Regions from separate parts of the Homo sapiens genome. Here region 1 is linked to region 2. Evidence: promoter capture Hi-C in 16 types of primary human blood cells and fetal thymus (Javierre and others, 2016). All regions are on one chromosome and are shown on one strand. Each heading gives the region's core, a stretch centred on a gene start or on the middle of the fragment in contact. The rest is flanking DNA. Distances are from core to core; before and after follow the strand shown.

Region 1 (3,460 bases), core at 380-2,879, 3.2 Mb before region 2:
TAAATTAAAAGAAAAAAAAATCTTGAGACAAGGAAAAATGGAAACACAATATACCAAAACTTATGGGATACAGCAAAAACAATCCTTAGAGGGAATTTTATAACAATAAACACCTACATCAAAGAAGAAGAAAGATTTCAAACAACCTAATGTTATACCTCTAGCAACTAGAAAAAAAAAAACAAACTAAGCACAAACGTAGTGGAAGGAAGTAAATAACAAAGATCGGAGCAGAAATAAGCAAAATAGAGACTAGAAAAACAGTAGAAAATATAAATGAAAGTAAAATTGGGGTTTTTTCAAAAGATAAAATTGACAAACCATTAGCTAGACTAACAAGGACAAAGAGAAAGAAGACTCAAATAAAATCCAAATGGAAGGAATCATAACTGATACCACAGAAATGCAAGGGACCTAAAGACTATCATGGACAACTATATAATAAAAAATGAATAACACAGAAAAAATAAAATTCCTAGAAACATGTAATGTACCATGACAAATAAAAAAGAAATAGAAAAATCTGAACAGACTTGTAATAAGTAAGGAGATTGAATCAACAATAAAAAACTTTCAAAAATAAAAATAAAGCCCAGGGCATGATAGCCTCACTGCCAATTCTACCAAACATTTAAATAACTAATATCAGTCCTTCTCAAGATTATCCAGAAAACTGAAATGGAGGGAATACTTCAAAATTTATTTTACAAGGCAAACTTTACCCTAATATTAAAACCATACAAGGACACTACAAGAAAAGAAAACAACAGGCCAAAATCCCTGATAAATATGGAGCAAAAATCCTCAAGAAAACTAGCAAACCAAATTCAGAAGCACATAAAATATTTATTAACTTTGATAAAATGAGATTTATTCCACAAGAGAAAGGATGGCTCAATGCACATAAATCAATAAATGAGTTACACTATATTAACAAAATGAAGAAGAAAATCATATGATACAGAAAAAAACATTTTCTCAATAGATACAGAAAAAACATTTGACTACATTTAACATCTGATCATGATAAAAGCTCTCAACAAATAGGTATTGAAATAATGTACCTGAACATAATAAAATACATATATTACAAGCCCACAGTTAATATCATATTAAACAGTGAAAAGTTGAAAGCTTTTCTTCTAAGATTAGGAAATAGAAAAGGATGCTCACTGTCATCACTTCTATTCATTATAGTATTGGAAGTCCTAGCTAGAACAACTAGATTAGAAAAAAGAAATAAAAGGCCTCCATAAAGGAAAAAAAGAAGTGAAATTGTCAGTGCAAATTGAAATTGGCATCAGGTTTGCCAATGAGGTGATTTTTATTGTAGAAAACCCTAAAGGCTTTATCAAAGACCTATTAGAACTGATTAGTACATTTAATAAAGTTGTAGTTTATGAAAACAAAATTTAAAAAAGAGTACTATTTCTATAAACTAACAACAAACTATCCAAAAAGAAATCAAGAAAATAATTCCATTTACAATAGCATCCAAAAATAAAATTAAATATTTAGGAATACATTTAACTGAAGAGGTGAATGATTGACTATGATGAAAACTATAATAGGTGAAAGAAGTTGAAAAACACACAATATAAAGATAACTCATGTTCATAGGTTGAAAAATTTACTATTTTAAAAACATACATAGTACTCAAAGCAACCTGCAGATTCAATGCAATCTCTATCAGAATTCCAATTTGTTTTTCACAGAAATAGAATAAAAGTCTAATAGAAAAAAATCCTTGAATAGCTGAAGCAATTGAGCAAAAAGAATGAAGTAGGAGGTATCAAATTTCCTGATTTCAAAATAGATTATAAAGCAATTGTAGTCAAAACAGCATGATACTGGCATGAAAGAAGATATATTGATGAATGGAAAAGAATAGAAAGCACAGAAGCAAACCTGACTATTTAAGGTCAATTGATTTTCCACAAAGATAAACACAATGAAGAAAAGACAATCACTTCAATAAATGGTGTTGACAAAACTTTATATCCACATTCAGAAGCATGAAATTGGATCTTTCTGACACACCATATATGAGAATTAATTCAAAACGGACAAAAGACCAATATGAAAGACTGAATCAATAAATCTACTAGAAGAAAATGTAGGGTAAAAGCTTCATAATTTTGGTCTGGGCAAGGATTTCTGGGATGGAACTTCAAAAGCACAGATAAGAAAAGCAAAAATAGACAGAGGATATTGCATCTAACTAAAAAGCTTTGATGCAGCAAAGACAACAATTTACATAGTGGAGAGATAGCCCACAAATTTAGGTAAAATATTTTTAAACCATACATATGGTAAGGGGCTAAAATAAAAAAAAAAAACCAAAAAACTAATTTAGTAATAGACAAAGAATCTGAACAGATATTTCTCCAAAGAAGACATGTGAATGACCAACAGATATATGAAAAAATCCTCAATGTCTCTAATCATCAGGGAAATGAAAATTGAAACCACAATGAGATATCACCTCACACCCATTAAAATGGCTATTACAAAAATTGATAAGTGTTGGTGAGATAACAAGTGTTGGCAAGAAATGGACCCTTTGTACACTGTTGGGGCCAATGTAAATTAATACAATCATTTTGCAAAATAGTATGGAGATTTTCCAAGAACTAAAAGTAGATTCCATATGACCCCAAAAATGTTACTTTTGGATATATAGCCAATGAATCTGAAATCAGCATGTGAACGAGATACCTGTACTTTCATGTTTATTTCAGAATTAGTCACAGTAGCCAAGATATAGAAGCAATAGAAGCAACCTGGTTTTATTAAAAGATTAATGAAGAAAATGTGGTGTGTATACACACACACACACACACACACACACACACACACTAGAATAATATACAGCCATAAAAATAAGGAAATTTTTTTCATTCACAACATGGCTGGAACTGGAGGAATTTATACTAAGTGAATTCAGCCAGTCATAGAAAGACAAATAGTTTATGATCTAACTTATATGTAATATCTAAAAAACTTGATATCATCCTACCTACTGACTTAGGTCCCAACTTCAGCTGCACTTCTTTCATCTCTGCAGTTGTGACAGGAAGATACGTTGGAGCGACTATGTGACTGGGGCGGGAGCCAAACTGGGTTTGGGGCAACATCAGCAATTCCCGTGGATGGGGCTTATGGGGCCATGATGGGTCAAGAAGGACATTCACCAACAAGAGCCAGAAGAGCCAGGTGTGTGTAGCGCACTACATAGGGGTGTTCCAAAATGGGAATAAATTTGATTTATCCGAAGACAGAAACAAACCTTTCAAGTTCAAAACTGGTGAACAGGAAGTCATCAGTGGTTTTGAAGAGTACATAGCGCAGATGAGCTTGGGGCAGAAGGTGAAGCTGACCTGCATATGTGATGTGTCATATAGAGCTCCAGGCTACTCTAGTATCATCCCTCCCAGTGCTATCCTATCTTTGACATGG
Region 2 (3,473 bases), core at 768-3,267:
AAAATACACTGCTAAGAGAATGAGGGCCAGGTGTGGTGGCTCACGCCTGTAATCCCAGCACTTTGGGAGGCCGAGGTGGGCAGATCACCTGAGGCCAGGAGTTTGAGACCAGCCTGGCCAACATGGTGAAACTCTGCCTCTACTAAAAATACAAAAATTAGCTAGGCATGGTGGTGCACGTCTATAATCCCAGCTACTCGGAAAGCTGAGATACCAGAAACTCTTGATCCTGGGAGGCGGAAGTTGCAATAAGCCGAGATCATTCACTGCACTCCAGCCTGGGTAACAGATCAGGATTCTGAAAAAAAAAAAAAAAAAAAAAAAAAAAAAAGGCAGAGTTGGGGGGCGGTAGGTAAGCAGAAACTTAAGTGTGATGGGCATACTCATTTGATCACAGTGATGGTTTAAGGGGTTATACATATGTCAAAACTGATAAAAATTATACACTTTAAGTATGCTCTATATATTCTATGCCAATTATACTTCAGTAAATATATCTAAAAAAACCCTACAACTCAGATGTCAGATTTTGAAGACGGTGGAAAAGATGCAGAATGGAAATTTCAGTTAAAGGCCTCAGTGATGTTTGTGAGTTATCCAAGTATTCAAGGAATCCATGCTTCCTCCATCTAGCTGAGACTCGGCAGAGTTTAATGAGCAATCTCAATACTATTCTCCAGAAATGGTGTCATCCACCATACTATGGCTGTTTTCAGGAAGAGAATGACCTAATCAGTATAAAATGAACTCCATGTCTTGTGAGAGATTTATAATTAAACACATAATCCACATTTACAAACATTTTTAAAGGGCTTTTCTACCTGTAGGAGAGGATTAATATTGAGAGTGAACTTTTTGCAAGTTTTCCAACACACTAGTTTATCTCTAAGAGCCTCAGTTTCCTCATCTATAAAATACCATAAGAAATAAGAAAAAACAGGAAACTAAAAAGAGCAGGCTTTGCCAGAGCTATTAATTATTCTTTTTTGGGCAGAGCCAAAACTCAAGAAATGGAAGTCTCTCTTCCATTTCTAGACTTTTTTAGAGAGATCCATGAGGAAGTTCCCCTCCATAGCTTTGGCCGACCATCACACCGGTCAAGAAGGCATCCAGCCTCTCCCAGGCTCAGCCTGTGACGGAAAACCACACTGATTTACTAGGATAGCCTTGAGCTCTCTCATTAGCCCTCACGTGTTCTGAACGTTAGAGCTAACTTTCCAGACCCTCATTATTTGTTGAAAGGCTGGATGGGGAAAATCTCAACCAGATCTCCATGCCTACTTGCAAGGAGAGGTAGTTTTTGCAGGGTGGCCTGTGTTCTCCAGATGCAGAGCCATACAGGGCCTTGCTTCTTTACGGGAGATACAAAAACTCGGCCCTAATAAACAGAAATAGTGGTTGAGCCCACAAACTAGCATTAAGTTGTCCTAACTGTAATTTCCAGCTCCGTCACTTGCTGTGTGGGACCTTATTATCTCCAAAACCCAATTTTTTCAACTTCACAATGGAATTAAAACAATCTAATTTTTCAAAATGGGGTTAACTTCCACTGTAAGTTACAGTATATTGGCCAATAATTAACTTGAACACTAAAGCTGGCATTTAACAGATCAATTCAACTGTTTTCTAAGTAAATACTTAAACGCTTAAAAAACCGTAATTTACTGAGAAAACAAAGCTTTCTTTCTAGGTTAAGAATTTGAGAAAACAAGACCCAGAAGCAAACTAAAATCAAGTCCTAAAATGGTACAAACCTCAAAAAGCCAATCAGGTTTGCCAATAAAGCTCCGCCTCCGTGCAAACTCTGCCCACTTCCGGCTTCCCCACCCACCTTCTACCAGTGGAACCCCGCCCCTCTCTGCGAGGTCCCGCCCCCCACACCTGATCCTGGTTCCCATTGGGCGAATCTGGATGCTGTATACACAGCCGACACACGCACATTAGGCTGGGGCGTCTTCGCGCCTGCGCAGCTGCGCTGTCAGGCGGCTGAAAACGGGGGGGTTGGGGGGAGGGGGGCGGAGGTCGTGCCGAATCTTCCTCCGTAATAAGAAGCGACGTGTCCCACTGTCCTGGCTCCGTGGGTCCAGTGAGATTGGGCCTGGGCGCTGGAGCTGCTGTGGCTCCCGCCGCGGCGGCTGCCATGGAGGCCATGCCAGAGCCCAGAACTCACGCCGGGGGAGGCCGAGACAGCCGGCGGTACTCATAGATGAGGCAGCGGCGGCGGCGGCGGCGGCGGCAGCCCGGGCTCTCCATGAGCAGGCGGCGGCGGCGACGGGTGCGGCGGCACCGGCAGTTTTCGGTCCCCAGGGAGGTACGAGGAGTTTGCTTCCTGGTGGACGGAGACTGGCCGGTGTGGGAACGCCTTCCGCGGCCCGGCCCTCCAGCCTATTTGTCCGCAGTTCTGAGCACTCGGCGGGGCACTGCCCGGGCAGAGGCGGGGGCGCCCAGCCGACTCGCGGGCCCCTAACTCGGGGACCCGCCCGCCTCGGTGCCAGGCCTCCCGGGCGCGGCTGCCCAGGGCCAGGGTGGGCGTGGCCGGAACGTGGGGGCTCCCCGGGGGCGCACGCCTAGCGTCCGCCTTGTCCCTGTCCCGAAGTCCCGCGCTGCTGGGAGCGGTAGCGCGTGGCTGTACAGGCGTATTTTAGGCGCTGATTTGAGAGGGGACTTTTAGAATCCCTGAGTCCTTAGGGAGTCTGGCGTTCAATGCCTTGGGCATGTGGTGGGGTCCTCACGGCTAGCTTGGGGTACCAATTTCCTCCCTTGGAAGTCACCACGAAAGAAAGATGTTTTGTCAAAGAAATAGAGGTCAGGAGAGTTTTCCAGGTTTATTCAAATTGGAGGGCCCGTAGAGCCTGGAGAATAAAGCCAGCGGAATACATCCTCCAGTCCTTCTAATTACAGTTCCTAGCTAAACAGCTAAGACAATTTTAAGTAAAGCTCTTCACAGCTATCTTTCCATCATTTTTCCCCACCCCTCATTTTTATTGCAATTTACTTTGGAACAAATCACCAAATTCATGATGAAACTAGTATCCTCTAGTTCTTCCAAACCTTCCCTCCTCCCGTTTTTTCCAGAGAAAGACTAAAGTTTCATGCCACATATGTCATTATAGTTTAATTCTCTTAGAGTGTAAGGGTAGTTACACTTCATTTGGTCATGTCTGAAGATAATGTGAAGAAAATATCCTAGAGATTTATGCTTCCTTCCCAATGCACTATTTTAGGAATCCGAACTCAGGCTCTTTAAGCAATCTTAAACCTTGCTACAAAGTTCTTTAAAATTCAACGGAAATAAATCAAACCATAAAGTTATTTTCGTTTTTAAAGTATTTGAATGCATAACTGTTTTTTAAAATCTTTGTAAACAAAACGAATCAGTATCTATTACGAAGAAACTGAGTTTGTGTTTTCCTAGGCTGCAGATTTGCCACACCCTCTTCTTCCTAAGTGGATGACTAGAATCAATGTGTTGG

Evidence for each region. The method cuts DNA at HindIII sites, captures the fragments that hold promoters and counts their contacts. A CHiCAGO score of 5 or more calls a contact.
Region 1: a fragment that was not itself captured here is called in contact with the fragment with the promoter of DORIP1 in region 2 in 2 of 17 cell types (naive CD8 T cells and naive CD4 T cells); the score reaches 6.3 in naive CD8 T cells.

The regions. Positions count from the first base shown.
Region 1 is chr14:41,739,487-41,742,946 of GRCh38, forward strand. The region is part of intron 1 of LRFN5 (leucine rich repeat and fibronectin type III domain containing 5); the gene reads left to right. It also overlaps the pseudogene FKBP1BP1. Among named protein-coding and RNA genes, the nearest start is that of LRFN5, 130 kb to the left of the region's middle. The HindIII fragment of the contact is 995 bases long and covers 1,133-2,127 here.
Region 2 is chr14:44,895,258-44,898,730 of GRCh38, forward strand. It overlaps DORIP1 (dopamine receptor interacting protein 1), which reads left to right and starts at 2,018. Exons shown (of 5, transcript NM_001017923.2): 1 at 2,018-2,311. RefSeq lists enhancers at 1,663-1,712, 2,337-2,836 and silencers at 2,203-2,332, 2,353-2,672. The HindIII fragment of the contact is 3,873 bases long and covers 1,677-3,473 here.